2 separate regions of the Homo sapiens genome follow, and region 1 is linked to region 2. Evidence: promoter capture Hi-C in human tissues and cell types (Jung and others, 2019). All regions are on one chromosome and are shown on one strand. Each heading gives the region's core, a stretch centred on a gene start or on the middle of the fragment in contact. The rest is flanking DNA. Distances are from core to core; before and after follow the strand shown.

Region 1 (4,418 bases), core at 1,135-3,634, 130 kb after region 2:
ATCTAAATAGACTTCCCCTTCAGCCAGGGCTTTTTTCTTTCTTTTCTTGTTGTTTTTTTTTTTTTTTAAAGAGACAATAAAAGGAGGTTTTTTTATTCAAAGGTATAACTGGATAAGTAGATTTGTTTACAATCATTCTTGTGAAATACTTTTTTAAAAAAATACGATCAACTTCTTTGCAAATAGTAGACACATACCTCAACAATGATGACCTAATTTTTGATCCATAATGTAAGATTAGGTAGAAATAGGCAAGCTCACACTGCTAAATTAACTATCAAATACTCAGTCAAAACTCCATTTGTGGCCCCCACTTCTTGATCTATTTCTGTTCCACTTCGTCTTCTACCATCTTGCCGACTTTCCTGAGCAACTGCTTTGTCGACTCTCTCTACCTGACCAATTGCCAGATCGACAACCTGACTGGCCTGACCAGCCACTCCTCTGTCTGGAATTAAAAGATGTTTCCATCATAATATTCTTTAATTTCAGGTAATTTAGCTGGCACTGAGAGTATCCAGCCGGAATCATGCCACTTTGCCTGTAACCTTTGACTCAATTGGAGGAATATCAAAGCAAACACCCATATTTCCTTTCAGGAGGCACACTCTGGTAATCTGAGACACTGCATTACTATTCAGCTTTCTAAGTTCTTTCCAAGCACAGCTGACATCCTGTATTTCCTCTAGGCTTTCCAGAGTCATGGTCACAAACCCCTTATCAGAGTTGATTAAAGATCATGGTTCAAAGCTTGATACACCAGAAATGTGGGCTAAAGCTGCAGCCAATGCATCTATCGCCCCTTTCTCTTCTATCAGTATCTGAGCTGATGGTTGGAAAAAAATCAACAGCAGCATAAGAAATGGAAGCCAGAGACCTTATGGCATCCATGCTTTTAAATTTAACTAAATCCATTGTAGAAGGAACACCTACACATTTAAAAGTAATTTGTGTTTTTTGTTCCACATGTCTTAGTTGACCTTTCTCTTGGTTGATAAAAACATATACAAACCCCTGTCTGTCCAGCTTTACCCACGCATCCAGAGAGATGGATATAGGACTCAATATCCTGAGGAGGAGAACTTTGAATCACCAGGTCAACTACAGGAATGTCCAAACCACGAGGAGCCACATTGGTTGCCACCAAAACTTTATAATTACCTCTCTGAAGCCTTTTAGTGTAATTTCTCTTTGTGACTGTGCAATGTCCCCATGTAAACACAGTGCATTCTGTTTTGTGCGGATTCATGGCCATGTCAGTTACATTCTTCTTCGTCTCACAGAAAATAATAGCCCTCCCTTCAGATCCACTGTAGACTTGAAGGACATCTCATTTTCATCTGTGTTTTATAAAGGAGGAAATTGAGGACCTCACATGGAGGGACTGGAATTTAAAACCAGGTCTTCTGACTTTAAGGCCTTTCTTTTAGTGTTTTCCCTTTTCTTTTCCTTAAGTCACTAAAATCTGTAGTTATATAATCTTACATAAAGCATATGCAAAATAGAAAAATGATAGTCACCACATATCTACTAATGGGATTAAAATGTACAATCCTAAAAGCTTACTTGTTAGCACACTTGCTTATCTGTCCATTCATTCATTGAACCAGTAAGTATTTATTGAGAGTTAGTGGGAATACAATGCTGTGCAAGACAAACAAGATCCCTCCATTCATACCACTTAAATTCTAGTGGGGAAAACATCTGCACATAACAAACTAAATAAAATGATCATAAAATAATAAATGCTATTTATATAAAACTGGCTACTTTCATTACTGCTCAGTTAAAGGGTCTTGTAGCTCATTTTATGACATGAAAAAAATCAAGGTCTAAAAGCTCCTTGAGACAATTTAAACTCTAATACCAAATATACCTCTATAAAATACCAAACTGAGCTAAATACGGTATATGTGTACTTATACATATGTACATAACCTAAATATACGTGTGCACACATTATCTATACAAAGAGCCATACTCAGTGAAAGATAAATTACCTCCTAAACTAAAGTCCCCTCTGAGGTACAACAGAAATTAAAATAATTGCTTCTCTTCTCAACTCTATGTAGCACGTATTTTCCATGATGGGATAAATGTTTTCATTTCAAGTGCCAATGTGTGAACTGTAATAAACATTACTGCTTTCATTTTTTGTAGGTATGGAGGTTACATTAACTGTTATAGTTGCGGAGCTGAGTTTTTATGTCAGGTAATTTTGTTTAGTCCAAACTGGTTTTGAACTATAAACAATTATGGATATGTATTTTTTGGTTTCTTTGACCCCAAAGGGAAATTGGGGTTTATGTCAAATTGATGTTTTATCAAAATAAATCTGTTTCTCAAAGCAAAAGTCTCTGTAGGATTGAGATAATTCATTATTTACATATAGGGTAAACAGACATTTACTGCCTATTGAGATCATAATTGAGATAATGGATTATCTCAATCCTGGATTCTAATTTACTACAAATAATTTAGCACCATTATTTAACAGAGCAGTTTAAAATAATAATCTTTCCTTAAAAAAAAAAAGACCAAGCTTAATTTTAAAAGCTTTGTGTTTACAGAGATCACCTATCAATATACTTTAGAATAATGATGTTAGAAAAACCTAGGGATTAAGGAAGACAGTTTGAGATTAGAGATTTGTAGAGTGAAGATTTAGTAGCACAAATCAAGTTTGATGGAACAGGCTGTTCATAGTCTTGTGAATGTGTGAATTTGTTGGATATCCAGTTTTTTTGCTGTGAATAATAAACTGTTTCTCTGATGCAGAGGGCTTCCTATCTTCTCTCAGAATATACATGTACAACAATTGCTGGTTAATTTGTTAGCTTGCAAGTAAGACAACAACGCAGACCTTCCACATTTTCTGACTTAACCCACTTATGCCTAGTGTTCCATTATTGCAATGCTCGGCTTATAGAGTTATTTATATCCTACTGTTCAAGGTCATCATCAGGTCTGATTTTTCACCAAAAAAATTTGCAACCTCTGGCATAAATGGGTTAACAATGTACAAAACAATCTCAAGAATTAATCATTATATAGGAGCTTATTGTATACAAAGTTAGCTAAAATTAGGTAAAGTGCTATAACATTTTGAGCACTAAGTAAGATAGCCTTTTCTTTCATGGTATAGGAAGAAGCCATCAGTGTGTGAACAAGTCATATATTTCCATCTGCAAAGACCTTTGTGAAATGGTATTTTTCTTCAAAACTTATCAGGAATGTGCATAACCAAGATGAATCAAAATTCAACATTTATTACGTACTATGTGCATGTATTACATTGGCAATGTAGGAAAAGTGAGCAATGTGAGAAAAAATATTGTATTAAGCACCAGGAGAGTTCACAATTTATTGGAAAAAGATATACCCTTAAATAATTGAAATGAGGTGATAAAAAAGGTAAAGATATAATATGAAGTATGATAAATCAATTAGGAAAATCCATTGATATGAGAAATCAATAATGAAAAAATAATTTTGAAAAAGATGAAATAATTGGGAGGGAGAGGGAGAGTCAGTTGAAATGGGGCTAGCACAGAAAATGAACACCCAGAATACGGGGAGGAAAATAGAAAACTATGTTGGGTCGTCCCTGCCGCCACATAAGGCACCTCATTCATCAGGATCAACTCTTGGGGCTTTGCTAGAAGATGAACTATTTCTTTTTCCTTAAATTCACAGATGCTTTCAATCTTCTGAAGATCTCATTGAGAACCAGTCATTCTAATCATTGTTTTCACACACTATGGAAATCATTAGAATAAAAATGTTGAAGATTGATTTAAAATGAAAGTTTCCAAGTTTTGTTATATAATATTTAGCATTTTAAGGTAAGAAACAATAGAAATTTGATTATGAAGACTTTTATTAAATTACAGTGTATTACAGATTATATCATAATAATAAGCCTTTCATCTTTAGGCTAATATGATACAAAAACCTACTTGGCCACATTACTTCTTGAGTTTCTTTTGGGCAGCTTTCTTCTTGACCATCTGTAATCGCTTCATAGCATTGAGCTGTGATTCTTGTGAAGTTGGGCCTTTAAGGGATGCTGAGGGAGAGCTGCTGGATTCTGAAGTAGTTTTGCTGGTAGTACTTCCACTAGGTCCTGATGTTCCACTATTTCCATTCCCACTTAGTTGGCTGCTGCTTCCTGGAACTAAACTACTTGGACTAGGAAGACCTACTTTGCTGACATTGTCACAACTAACTGAGCGACTAAGGCCAGTTTTACCCAAGGTTAGAGGTGGAGGTGGTTTTAAAGGTACAGTGGGCGTAGTGCTGTTATTGGAACCTATTTTGGAACCTATTCCACCTTTGGATGATGTTGCCAGACCAGTCAAACCCACAGGTTTCTGGTTAGCTGACGAAGTAGCAGGTTTCCCAGTATTGTTTTGTGT
Region 2 (4,168 bases), core at 1,271-3,770:
TGGACTACATATACAATAGTGGTCTCATAATATTATAATACCATACTTTTACTGTACTTTTCTATGTTTAAATACGTTTAGAGATACAAATACTTACCATTGCATTACAATAGCCTATGGTACTCAGTACAGTAACAGGTTTATAGCCCAGGAGCAATAGGCGGTACCATATAGCCTAGACATGTAGTAGGCTATACCATTTAGGTGTGCGTAAATGCATTTCATGATGTTCACACAATGACAAAATTGCCTAATAATGCTTTCCTCAGAATGTATCCTTGTTGTTAAACAATACAGGATGGTATAATGAAGCTACGTTTAAAGAAAATATATTCCATAATGTTCACACAATGACAAAATTGTCTAATGATGCTTTTCTTAGAATGTATCCTTGTTGTTAAACAATACAGGGTTGTATAATGAAGCTATTACAATAAGTTCTGCTATAACACTTGTTTTGAAAATACAAATTTGTTCCAACAAGATTGACATATTAGGGAATTGTTTGAACATAACACAATTTCGCATTTGTTTGTGTGTGATTTTGTCTACTTGAAACACTAGTCGAATGCAGAAAACTACCCAGATGACCTGAGCCACATAAGAATACACAAAACTCACACAGGTACAATCCTCAAACCTTACCAGTGACCTCAGTTCACTGCCTGAGTTATGAGCCACACCCATCCACATCTGGTGTAATAAATTTCCCCCGATTTCAAATAATGCTTCTTCTGCCATTTCACAACCCTTAAGCTGTGACCTTTCTGAGGCCCATTTCCACAAGCAAATGCCGTGTCTTTTTCAAGATAAAGGGTTATATTTGCTGTAGTATTTATGCATTTCTTAAGCATTTATCATGTGTAAATTCTTGCTACCATTTTTATTAGGTCTTGATCTGATTTTTATGGTCCATTGACAAAGTTTCTGAGTGCTCTGTCCTAAACCTCATGTTACCCATTAAGTCCTGTAGTTTTAATTGAACTTTTTTTTTCAGTGATACCGTATCTAAATAAATCCCTGGTGGTTACCAGGTGAATATAAATAAGTGTGTATATGCATACATACATTCATACATATATAATATTCGAACACAATTGAGGCATTTTGACATAAATCCAAAAAATTCCTTTTATATTTTAGAGGTAAATAAGCCTTTAAAAGTATTTATTAAATGTACTTGGGAGGATTTATTCAAAAAAGACTATCAATTATATTAAATAAAAGCCATTCAATACGCCAAGCTATATATAGATGTCTCCATAGTGGGTGAAGATGTGTCATTTATCTTTTAAGATAATTATGCAAACTATATTGAGCACACACATCCTGAGCTGGGAAATGACTTTTACATCTTTCTCCTCATTTATAAATCTTTTCCAACAGAAGTTATGCAAGATTCAGACTGGTCAGCACAGAGCTGGATTTTGGTGGTCCCTTTACAATAGGAGAGAATCCATTTTCCTCCTTAGGGTCTTTCTTTTCTTTAACGAAGGCATACAGAGCACTCAGCACATTCCCAGAGCTTCTTAGAATTTTTCCCTTGAGAGATCTCAGGAAATATGAGGAAAAACAACTTCAAAAAAATTAATGAAAGGCCTATCACTGTCTGCCTTTCTCTCTTTTAATCCCTGCCCTATCCTTTCTACTTTCTAGAAGTGTAGTGCCCCTTCAGTTTCAAACATTTTTCCTCTCCTTAAATTCCCAAGGTGGGATGCCCTTTTCTGGCACTCCGTCTATGAAAGGGACAGGGAAAAGATCTTATAGAAACTGAACCCTGACACGGGGCTTATTTTCCTAAGGACCAAAACATAAAAGGACAGGGTGGGACCATGGAAGGATTAATTTCAGGCAAGGGCAGCCTGTGGAGAGTGAGAAATCTGAAAAGGCTCTAGGCTTCTATGGGCATTCCCCTCCACTTCTTCTGCCTGCTGCCAGATGACTCTCACATGTGAATCCTTATTTCCTCAGGAATGCGGATCAGGGTTTGGCAAGTATGTTTTCAGTAAATAATTGCTGAATGTTCAACGCTTAAAGGCAGAAGCATAACTTTGAGTGTGCACAGTAATCACTGAAAATGATTCTGTACTCACCGTTTTGATGCAAATGCAAATTCTCATAGCCCCTGCACTGACTCCGTGGGTCACCTGTGAGTAACTCTAGCCAAAAGCCACGCACAAGCCCTGGTCTGCCTCCAGGCAGCAGACCACAACACAGTGCCCTGAGTGCACCTGCACACACCCATGGGCACACATTAAACCCATAAACGGCGGGTTATGCTAACGTGTACTTCCTTCCTCACTGCCTCACCTTGTTCATTTTCCTTTTTCCCCACCCCTCACCCCATACAATAGGATTTTTGTTTGCTTCAGTAGCATGTGACAGCACAGTCCCTGCTTTGCCTAGCTCTGTGCTGCAAGTCTCTCAGGTAACAGGTGGCAGCTTCCCCTGTTGGATTCTAGGTTTAAAAAAGAATGACCTCATGTGGGTGGAGCTCTGGGACTTCGTAGAGGTGGTGGCAGTCACAGCCAGGTAACCCTGGAGTGAAGCGGTTTAGTTAGAAGGGAGCAGATAAACTCGTCACTCTAGTAGCTTTAACCCTCACCCTGAGGCACCTTAGCAATCAGCCATTGCCTGCAAGCCTCCAAAGCTTGTCTTTGCCTAATATGGAGCCCAAAGAAGCCACTGGGAAAGAAAACATGGTCACCAAGAAAAAGAATCTGGCCTTCTTGAGGTCTAGACTCTATATGCTGGAGAGAAGGAAGACTGACACTGTGGTTGAGAGCAGTGTTTCTGGGGACCACTCTGGCACCTTGAGGAGGAGCCAATCTGACAGGACCGAATACAACCAGAAATTACAAGGTAACCAAAAAGAAATCAATTGTCCCAGTTACTGCACTCCCAGCTCCATTTCTGCTACGTTTCCAATTGCAAAGAAAACACACAAGGCAGAGGGGAAAATTGAATACCACCTCTCCTTCCCACAAAATAAGAAGATGAAAGTAAATGTGACCTATAAATTATAGGGAAAAAAATTTATTACGTGATTCAATGTTAAAGAGTCAATTCCGAATTACTCTTAATATTGCTGTGTTTTTCTTTTTTTTTTCCTGGTGAGGGTAATCATTTTTCTTCTAACTTCCTCTTTTCTTCTCCCTTCTCTACCCAACTTAAGAAGTGGGAAACACTGGAAAGCAAATGAGTTAGAAACCTACAAAAGATTGTTTATCTCAATGGGTAGATATGTGATATTACACCATGAGATATATCTAGGTAATGGTACTGAACTATGATTGTGGTTATCTTAAATAGGGGCATGAAACTATAATCGTGTCTGTGACAAAGAAGGAATGTTATAGTCAGAGAGACGGTATAAAAAGATTTGCTGAAATTCACTTAGGTGATTATTTCCTTTGAGTAAATTGAATAATACTCAAATATGGTAAGAAATGTTTAGCATGCTTATTTTGAATGACATTTGAGGAAATAACTTCAGTTTATTTTGTGATGGTACAAAGATAATTTGGCACAGTTATGATAGCACATCATTTGTTTCAGGGCCTTAATCTATATCCTGTCCTATCTATCCTTTCTTTCTCTCCTGTTTCCTGAAGGTCATTTGTTCTAGTAAAATTTCATTTTGATGTTGATATTGGGCAGCATTTTAAGTCTTTTCTTCGGTACTTGTTATGTGGTCCTCCAGAACTTGCCTCTCCTGCTTTTAGCACAAGGTGTGTCTGAACTCTCATCATCCCACTGTGAGCTGTCGTTTTGGATTTAAAAACTGTGATGAGGTCAGAAAGACCGATAGGACATGCTTATATTTAACAAATCTCTTTCCACAAATATGAGCTTAGATTTAGTTATGCAAATTAATTAAGTTAAATAAGTTAAATTAAATGCATTTAAATTAAATCTAAAAATTATTACTATAAGTTAATGTGTAAAAATAAAAAAAAAATTACCAGTAGTTCAGCACTAAAGCACAGCATCAATCTTATCCTCAAATACTTTTTTTTTAAAATGAGGGAGAGCATTGTTTAATCTTTGAAATTAATTTTTCTCCAAGCAATAGATACATTGGAAAGAATGGATGTCTTAAAATTTCAACTTTTATTTTAGATTCAGGGGGTATATATGTGTGTTTGTTACTTGCGTATTTTGTGTG

Evidence for each region. Contacts are between HindIII fragments. The study calls those that stand out against the background at their distance.
Region 1: a contact is called between a fragment that was not itself captured here and the fragment with the promoter of ARHGEF38 in region 2, in 2 of the 25 tissues and cell types used here (lymphoblastoid cells and small bowel).

Annotation. Positions count from the first base shown.
Region 1 is chr4:105,678,765-105,683,182 of GRCh38, forward strand. It overlaps ARHGEF38 (Rho guanine nucleotide exchange factor 38), which reads left to right. Exons shown (of 14, transcript NM_001242729.2): 14 at 1-2,150. INTS12 (integrator complex subunit 12) reads right to left here. Exons shown (of 8, transcript NM_020395.4): 8 at 3,863-4,418. The coding sequence ends at 3,969. Among named protein-coding and RNA genes, the nearest start is that of INTS12, 28 kb to the right of the region's middle. The HindIII fragment of the contact is 4,608 bases long and covers 81-4,418 here.
Region 2 is chr4:105,550,100-105,554,267 of GRCh38, forward strand. It overlaps ARHGEF38 (Rho guanine nucleotide exchange factor 38), which reads left to right and starts at 2,521. Exons shown (of 14, transcript NM_001242729.2): 1 at 2,521-2,862. The coding sequence starts at 2,667. LOC105377352 (a long non-coding RNA gene) reads right to left here and starts at 2,185. Exons shown (of 5, transcript NR_188418.1): 1 at 2,094-2,185. The HindIII fragment of the contact is 7,071 bases long and covers 1-4,168 here.